Regions from separate parts of the Homo sapiens genome. Here region 1 is linked to region 2. Evidence: promoter capture Hi-C in human tissues and cell types (Jung and others, 2019). All regions are on one chromosome and are shown on one strand. The core of a region is centred on a gene start or on the middle of the fragment in contact, and the rest is flanking DNA. Distances in the headings are between cores, read along the strand shown.

The links. The method cuts DNA at HindIII sites, captures the fragments that hold promoters and counts their contacts. A contact is called where the count stands out against the background at its distance.
Region 1: a fragment that was not itself captured here is called in contact with the fragment with the promoter of OARD1 in region 2 in 1 of the 25 tissues and cell types used here (dorsolateral prefrontal cortex).

What each region holds. Positions count from the first base shown.
Region 1 is chr6:39,437,756-39,442,084 of GRCh38, forward strand. All of the region lies in intron 13 of KIF6 (kinesin family member 6), which reads right to left. Among named protein-coding and RNA genes, the nearest start is that of KCNK16, 120 kb to the left of the region's middle. The HindIII fragment of the contact is 7,618 bases long and covers 1-4,329 here.
Region 2 is chr6:41,070,392-41,074,121 of GRCh38, forward strand. OARD1 (O-acyl-ADP-ribose deacylase 1) reads right to left here and starts at 1,965. Exons shown (of 6, transcript NM_001329686.2): 1 at 1,845-1,965; 2 at 1,205-1,284; 3 at 741-885. The coding sequence starts at 1,243. It overlaps NFYA (nuclear transcription factor Y subunit alpha), which reads left to right and starts at 2,583. Exons shown (of 10, transcript NM_002505.5): 1 at 2,583-2,693. RefSeq lists enhancers at 1,984-2,193, 2,224-2,273 and silencers at 2,654-3,283, 3,314-3,473. The HindIII fragment of the contact is 6,789 bases long and covers 1-3,730 here.

The DNA.
Region 1 (4,329 bases), core at 93-2,592, 1.6 Mb before region 2:
AACTGCATGTACGACGGTGGTCCCATATGGTGTCATAGTTGTCATAATGTCATAGTGCAACACATTTGTCACATGTTTGTGGTGATGCTGGTGTAAATAAACCTACTGTGATGCCAGTTGTATAAAAATATTGCGTATATAATTATATACGGTACATAATACTTGATAATAAATGACTATTTTACTGATTTATGTATTTACTATACTTTATTTATTTATTTAATTATTTATTTATTTTTGAGACAGAGTGTCACTCTTGTTGCCCAGGCAGGAGTGCAGTGGCCTGATCTTGGCTCACTGCAACTTCTGCCTCCTGGGTTCAAGCGATTCTCCTGTCTCAGCCACCCGAGTAACAGGGATTTGTCCGCCACCACGCTCGGCTAACTTTTTGTATTTTTAGTAGAGATGAGATTTCACCATGTTGACCAGGCTGGTCTCGAACTCCTGACCTCAGGTGATCCACCTGCCTCAGCCTCCCAAAGTACTGGGATTACAGGTGTGAGCCACTGCGCCTGGCCTATACTATACTTTTTATCATTATTTTAGAGTGTACTTCTTCTACTTATAAGTTAACTGTAAAAAAGCCTTGGGCAGGTCCTTCAGGAAGTATTCCAGAAGAAGGCATTGTTATCATAGGAGATGAGAGCTCCATGTGTGTTACTGCCCCTGAAGACCTTCCAGTGGGACAAGGTGTGGAGGTGGAAGACAGTGACACTGAAGGTCCTGACACTGTGTCTTCATTTTTAACAAAAAAGTCTAAAAGCTTAAAAAAAATGAAAAATTTTTAAAATAGGGAAAAGCTGATAGAATAAAGATATAAAGAAAAAAATATTTTTGTACAGCTGTATAATGTGTGTTTTAAGCTAAGTGTTATTACAGAATTAAAAAGTTAAAAAAATTAGGCTTATAAGATAAAAAGTTACAGTAAGCTAAGGTTAATTTATTATTGAAATATTAGTAAAAATGAATTTAGTGTAGCTTAAGTGTACAGTGTTTATAAAATACACATAGTGTACAGTAATGTTCTAGGCCTTCACACTCACTCACCACTCACTGGCTCACCCAAACCAACTCCGTCCTTCAAGTTCCATTCATGGTAACTGCCCTGTACAGGTGTTTTTATTTTTATACTGCATTGTTACTGTACTATTTCTATGTATAGACACACAAATGCTTACCATTGTGTTACAATTGCCTACAGTATTCAGTACAGTAACATGCTGTACAGGTTTGTAGCTGAGGAGCATTAGTTTATCCCATCTAGCCTAGGTGTGTAGTAGTCTATACTATCTAGGTTTCTTTAAGTACACACTATGATGTTCACAAAATGATGAAGTCACCTTATGACGCATTTCTCAAAATGTATCTCAGTTGTTAAGTGACACAAGACTATACTCTTGAAGGTATCATTATTTCAGTGCTAGCAAAGAAAAATTCCACAATTTATTGACAATTAGCTAAGAGGTACTGCAAAGACATACATTTTATCTTCTTCCCAACTTTGTTTAGTCTGTCAGACTCAGCTCCTCAACAGAGCTGAGGACCTTGGGAACTTGCCATGCTCATTTCTAGAGCTCATTTCTTAGTTGTTTGCTTTTAGTGAATTTTAATCACAGGTTCCCAGCGCTGGATCCCTGAAATATGAATGATTAAGAGAAGCCTGCTGGCTTGCTGAGTTACAGAACCATTTAAAACCTAAAAGAGAGGAATTTCTGAGTCTCATTCTCCAAAAGACGACATTGCAATTTCGGTTGTAAGTTGGATGGAAAATATTTGCAAGTCCCAAAGGTGTAATCTCTTCTGAACTTTGATAGTGGTCAAAGAGCACATAGGTAGAAATGGTAGTCAACAAGGGGCTTTCAACATCAGCCTCAGGGTTGGGTTTCTGAAACATTAGGCATCCAAATTCTTGTGCGCTGGTCCCTTACCCACTTCTTAATGCTTTCTTTTTTTTTCAACCTGAAATTCAGTTCCTTATTTTGCTAACGAATACAACTTGGTACTTTGGGAAGCCCTCCCCATCCCCAACACAGGGTCCCATGGAAACCAAATGGAAAGGAAAAACATCGGAAGTGGAGAGTTTATGCTATTGCCTTTGGGCCTGCGGTCTGATTTCCTTTAGTCTGGGGTACATGGGCCAGAGCTTATTTTCCTGGCTGCTCCTAAACAACCTACTGCTGCTTAAGCTATTGCTTAAAAATTGACAAAAGTACAATGATGGAGAGAGTTGTGTTATTCATGCTGAAAAATGATTTCCTAGTCGGAGCCAAAAATATATTTTCCTTGGGAGATATTCACTCGCGTGGGGCCTCGGTTCCCTCTGACTAAAGAAGAGAGGGATGAGAAGAAGACCAGCAGGGGACGATGAACAGTGAGAAGGGGGGTGGATTCCAAGGAGATGGGGGTTTGGAACACACTGTTTGGGACTGAAAGCATGAGAAGGCTCAGAGCTGGGTGGGGAGCATGTGGTGCTAAGGCAGGAAGGAAGCTGATGATTCACGGTGGGAATCGTATTGAAGGATGATTATACTCTGTGGCTCAATAGTGGAAGCTCTTTAAATTGAAGGTAAGGGAACAGCTCTGATACCACAGTATGATGAATACCTACAACGTGTAGAATCTGGAGGTGCATACAAGAATGAGAAGCAATGGGCAGAGATCAAGTGTGTTTTTTGTATGGTGCCTGAAATAACCTTCTATCTGAAGTGAAATTTCTTGGTAAGTGTTGACTTGGGTGAAATAGACAAAAATATCGTCACCTAAATAATTAGAAGAGAATTCCATTTCAGTGTGTTCCAAACCCCTGTCTCCTTGGAATCCAGCACCCCCTCACTGTTCATCGTCCCCTGTTGGTCTTCTCTCCCCTCTCTTCTTTAGTTGGAGAGAACTGAGGTCCCTGAGTGTGTGGAGAAGGTAGAATGAACGGGTTGATGGGAGGAAAAGGAAATAAGGATTTAGAAGAGAGACAAGGCAGAGCTGAGGAAGGGATAATCTATCGAGCTGTAGCATGAAATATAAAGGTCAAGAGGGATAGGAAGGTCAGGGGGAAGGTCAGTGAGCCCACACTCTTGGGAGTGGTGCTGGATGTCTCCAGGGGCATAGAGAGGAAATGGTGGCTTCAGCCAGAAACCCAGGTGCAGGACAAGCCAGCAGCTTTGACGATGGAGAGCCAAGGATGCACTGACACTGGACTGAATACATGCATGGAATGGGGTTGGGGGCTATAACAGATCTTATAAGAGAAATGAGCCATCTCCAAGAAAGATTAGATGGAACAGTGGAGATAGTGTCTTTACCTTCCTCCCACAAGGATGCTTGTGATTTAGGAAGGAGGAGTTTTTGAAAGGTGCATGAAAGACAAGGATGTTGAATATGCAGACCCTATGTTACCGCTTTCACTCTTCATACCCCTAGAAGACATCGCTGATCAATCTCAGCATCTTTCCTGGGAAACTAATCATAGCATTAGAGTTCTCAGCACAGTTTTTCAGCAGCCTCTGCCAGTCAATCATCCCTGGCATAGAAGCTCTTCCTTTAATAGGTGGCTTCCAGATTACTAACCAATTAAATGACAACTGCCATTTGATAATAGCAAATGTCATCATTTACTGTTACTGTCATCATGCCGGTGCCACCTGGTCCCATCGCTTTAGGAACTACTGTGCAGATGGTCTCCCCTGGAGAGCAGCATCATGCCCTAGCATGTGTGTATCACTGAGGAGCCCTCCATTCATGTTCCTCCACCTCCAGGGTGATGGAGGTCACCACAGTAAGCAGAGCCATCTGTCACGGTTCTGCTGACTTTAAAGGGCCTGGTGTAGCCCAGCTACAATTTGAGGGGTTGCTGCGCTGGTACCGCAGGGTATGAAATCTGAGGATGAGGGGAAGAAAAAAAGCCACGGCCAAAGTGACTGCAGATGTGAAGACCAGAGATCAGATCTTTTGGGGTGACCAAGGACACTCACTCAACCTACTTCCTCCTCTCGATTGACAATTTCTGGAATGGGCTAGTGCCCCAAGGCTTTGAGGTTAAAGGGCTATGTTCAACTCAGATAATATCACCTGGGCTAAAGTCCTCAGATTAGGACTTGCCTTAGAGTTTCTTAAGTAGCCACATGAAAGATGTCAAAGGAACCTTTAATTAGTAGGTTCTGAGGGCTGGCTTGGACCAGGCTGAAGCATGGTAGGCTTGGCAGGAGCTCTAGGGAGGAGAGCGAAGGGAAAATCTGAAGTGGAAAGCCACATAAACCTTAGGAGACCCACCCAATGGTGGCACCACATCTAAATAAATCAAATGGGTTCCTGACTCCTGATGCCAGAAATCACACA
Region 2 (3,730 bases), core at 715-3,214:
AAATATATCCTCATTTGTCCACAAACTTTCTCTATTGCCTTGAAATTGTTTTATAGTGTGTAGTTTTTTACTTGCCAAATGTGTATTTACTCAATAATTATCTTTTTACATACAAAGAGCTGTATAAGGCATTATGAGGAATACAGATATATAAAAAAGGAATTAATTATTACAGAGTTTTCAATCCAGAGAAGATATCATCATTCCAAATAACTATAATACAAAGCAGTAAGAATTGCTTTTGTCTAAGGCTAAGAATCACTGTGGACACTGATGCTGTTAAGCCTGGAATGTGGTCGGAGAAACTGTTGCAGAAGCTTTACATAGGATTCTAGTGCACATTTCTGGTTTAAAGTGGCCCGTAGAAAGTGATGGGAGGGGTCTGTAAGGAAGAAGAGGTTTCTAAATTCCTCTTTGAAGAGAAAGCAGAATATTGGTAAGTAAAGGATCTTGAATGCCAACCTATAGACTAAGCATCTCAGAGTTATTTCAAGTTTCAGAGAAGTACAGTAATATCGTCAAGAAAGTTTCATGATACAAGAGGAAGAGATTAAAAACCTTCACAGGAGTTGGGTTTTGATATGGTAAACGTCTAAACTAGAGGCCATTCTTGGGGAGGAAAATCTTAAAAACATTTGGTTCTTAGGAATCCCCTCTTTACACGCATATTTTATTAAAGTGTAACAGATTAAAAGGTGCTCTAGCCAGGGCAAACCAGGTAAGTGGTTTCCAAAACTCACGTTGATTTAAAAGTTCTTGCACCCCTCCAAATTTCTTCTTAAAGAGGACAGCTATCCCAGCGCCCATGCGACAATCCTCACTGATACAGTGGGCTAAAGAGTCTGTTTTCGGGCATGCAAAAAGGTCTCCTTTCACATAAGTGATCTAAAAAATGTGCAAAGGAAAAGACAATGTTTTATTAGATACAGTAAAATACTAAGCTATTTTTCTGTATTTTGTGTCCCCCACGACTACCTCTCCCGGCACCCCTTCCTCCAATCTGATTTAAAGCCAAACCAATTACAGCATGTGTAAAAGGAAAGTAATGGATGATCCCTGCCTAGAATTTTGAGCCTTTTTAAAGTAAATCAGCTAGAGAGAAAAAAAGATAATGCAATCATTAATTTAATTAAAAAGTGTTTATGCTTTTGACCTCCATTATTACGAATTTCAGTTCACCAATAAGTCAATAGTTGTTACGCACTCTGCTTCCTTCTGGATCTTCATTAAGGCTGCTGGCCATGATACTGAGTCGCTATTTCCAGAATTTAAGTGTTTCTTCAGCTATGAGAAGGGAAAAGGAAGTAAAAATGCTTAGGCAGCCTTAGTATATAATATTCTGATTGCCCTGTACAACCACTTAATAGGCTTTTTTCCCCAACGTTTATCGATGAATGTGAGTTTGTTCGGCCCCTGGGACGTAATACAAAACCCTTCTGGGGCAAAGAGGAAGAACGCTTAGGTTCGGAGGCTGTCTCGACCCGCTCTCATTTCGTGCTTTCCTGGAGCGCCCCGCTCCGTCAGCGGAAGCAAAGCCCATCCCTAAGACACGCCTCCTCCTTTCTCCAGGGCCACTCCGGAGCAAGGCCGATTTAGGACGGTCTCCTTTTCTCTGCACGACGCAAAAGTATTTCCCCAGTGGGTCTGGCTTAGAAGAAAACAGAAGGGACTTGGCCACAGTCCCGTTAAGCCGCAACCACAGAGTGTACAGGGTACTGGCGTGCTGAGCCCCAGGCGTGGGGAAAGGAAGGCGGCCTCTCAAGGAACGTTCACCCCCCACTTTTTTGGGGGGTGCGTGGGAGAAGGAAAGAGTCTATTGAAGCCTCCCATTCTCTGTCTCCTACCCTAGGGCGGGTCAGCGAGGACGCAGTCTGTCCTGGGGTCCTATGGGAGGGTGCGGGGAGGCTCGCTCAAAGCCCCAACGTACCCAAGTCACCCTTCACCTGGAAAGGAGTCGGTTGTTTGGAGGTCCCCGCCCCGCGGGGAAGGGCTCCGGATCCGACCCTGGTAGGTGGGGAGCAGCGGACCAGCCCAAACGCGGAGCCAATCCCGCCAAAGCCCTTAATTGCACGCATCTAAGATGGCCGCCCCCGCCCGGTAGCGGGGCGGAAACGAGCCCCTCTAGCTTGCTAGCCGAGCCCACACTCTTTGGCGAAGGCCGCCGAACTTCCGGCAGTAAATTCCGTGGTTTCCCGCCGCCGCCCGCGCATGCGTAACGAAACTGCCCCACGAGTCGGGAAAAGTGGCGCTTGCGCATTAGCCGCAGGGGTGTGTCCTAGTGGCCACTTGGAAAGGGGTGGGCAGCTGGCAAAGGGGCTAGTTAGCGCCTGCGTAGTACTAAGCTCAAGGCAGCGTTTTGAGTTGAAGGGTCTGGCGCGTCTGGAAAGCGCCTGCGTATTCCTTTCACTGGGGGTGGTGTCAAAGCGGGAAGGTGGGCGTGGCTTCAGGGAACGCCTGCGCGTTGCTCCTCCGAAGGGGTGGGGCGATCCCTGAACTGGAGTTAGTGGGCGTGGCCTCAGAGGCGCCTGCGCGGAGGCGGTTGGAGGGAGGCCCGATTCCCCTTTGTTCGGGTTCGCCATTTTGCTAGGCAGCGGCAGTGGCGGCGGCAGCGGCGGCTGGAGCCTCTGATTGGGTTTCGGAGTCCGGTACTGGAGCCAATCAGCGCGGGCAGCGAACCGGGGGAGCGAGGCACGGTGAGTGTGAGGAGCCAATATCCAGCGGCCCAGAGCCGGCCCCAGCGCCCCGATTGGCGGGTCTCGCTGACCACTCAGGAGAGGCCCAGGCGCCCGTCGAGCCCGGGGAGTCGAGCTGAGCCTAGCCGAGCCGGGCGGCCAGCGGCCCCGGCCCGGGGCCTGCGAGCGCCTCGGGGCACTCCCGGCCGAGGCCTGCAGGGGCCGCCCCGCGCGGGGATGGCGCCTCGGGGAGCAGGCACCTCGGGGCTCCGACCCTCGCAGGGTGCCAGGGCCAGTTGGGAATGCGTCCCTGTTCCCCGACTCAGGCCCAGGTTCTCAGGCCCCAGGCCTGGGGCCACGAATGGCCCTACACTAGGGGACACATGCGCGCCCTGGGCCTCGGCGATTTCCTCCTGGTCGTTCTGGCCGCAAACTTAAACCTGCCCTTGCACTCTCCACTCTCCGGCCCTTGGGACAGGAAGCCTCCCCGGGGCCCGCGCCCCCCGCTCCCCGCTCCCAGCGAGCCGGGTCTGTCTTATCTGCAGCCCCTCTAGGTCGGGAGGGAGGCCTGGGGAGGGTGCGCGCCGCGGCCGCGGGGTCCCGTGTGCGGCTGGCAACGGGGCTGGCCCGCCCACGCCTCGGAGCCCTATGGGCCCGCCCCCGCTGTCTCCCTGGTGGGGAGAGGGGGCCGTTAGTTCGCCCACTCCCCCTGCTCCGCCGCGCCCCTCCTCCCAGCCCGCTCCGCCCGGGTCTCCGGCCCGGCGCCGTTACCACCCCTTTTGGCTCGTCATTTCCTCTCTTCCCCGCCCCGTTCGCAGTGGCAGGACCGCACACCTCCGTCTTGGAGCCCAACCAAGCGGTCTCCGTTTCTTGTCCGGGCTGTAAGACCAGTCCATTCGGTGCCTGGAACCTCACTCTTAGAAGATTGATACCCTTGCGCATTCTTTCCGGAGGCTGCACAACTTGCTGTTCATATTACTAATCTTATCCACTGCTCATTTTGTGAAATCTCCCTCCCTTGGGAATATAGTACAGTTTTGGGGGTTTTTTTTCCCTTT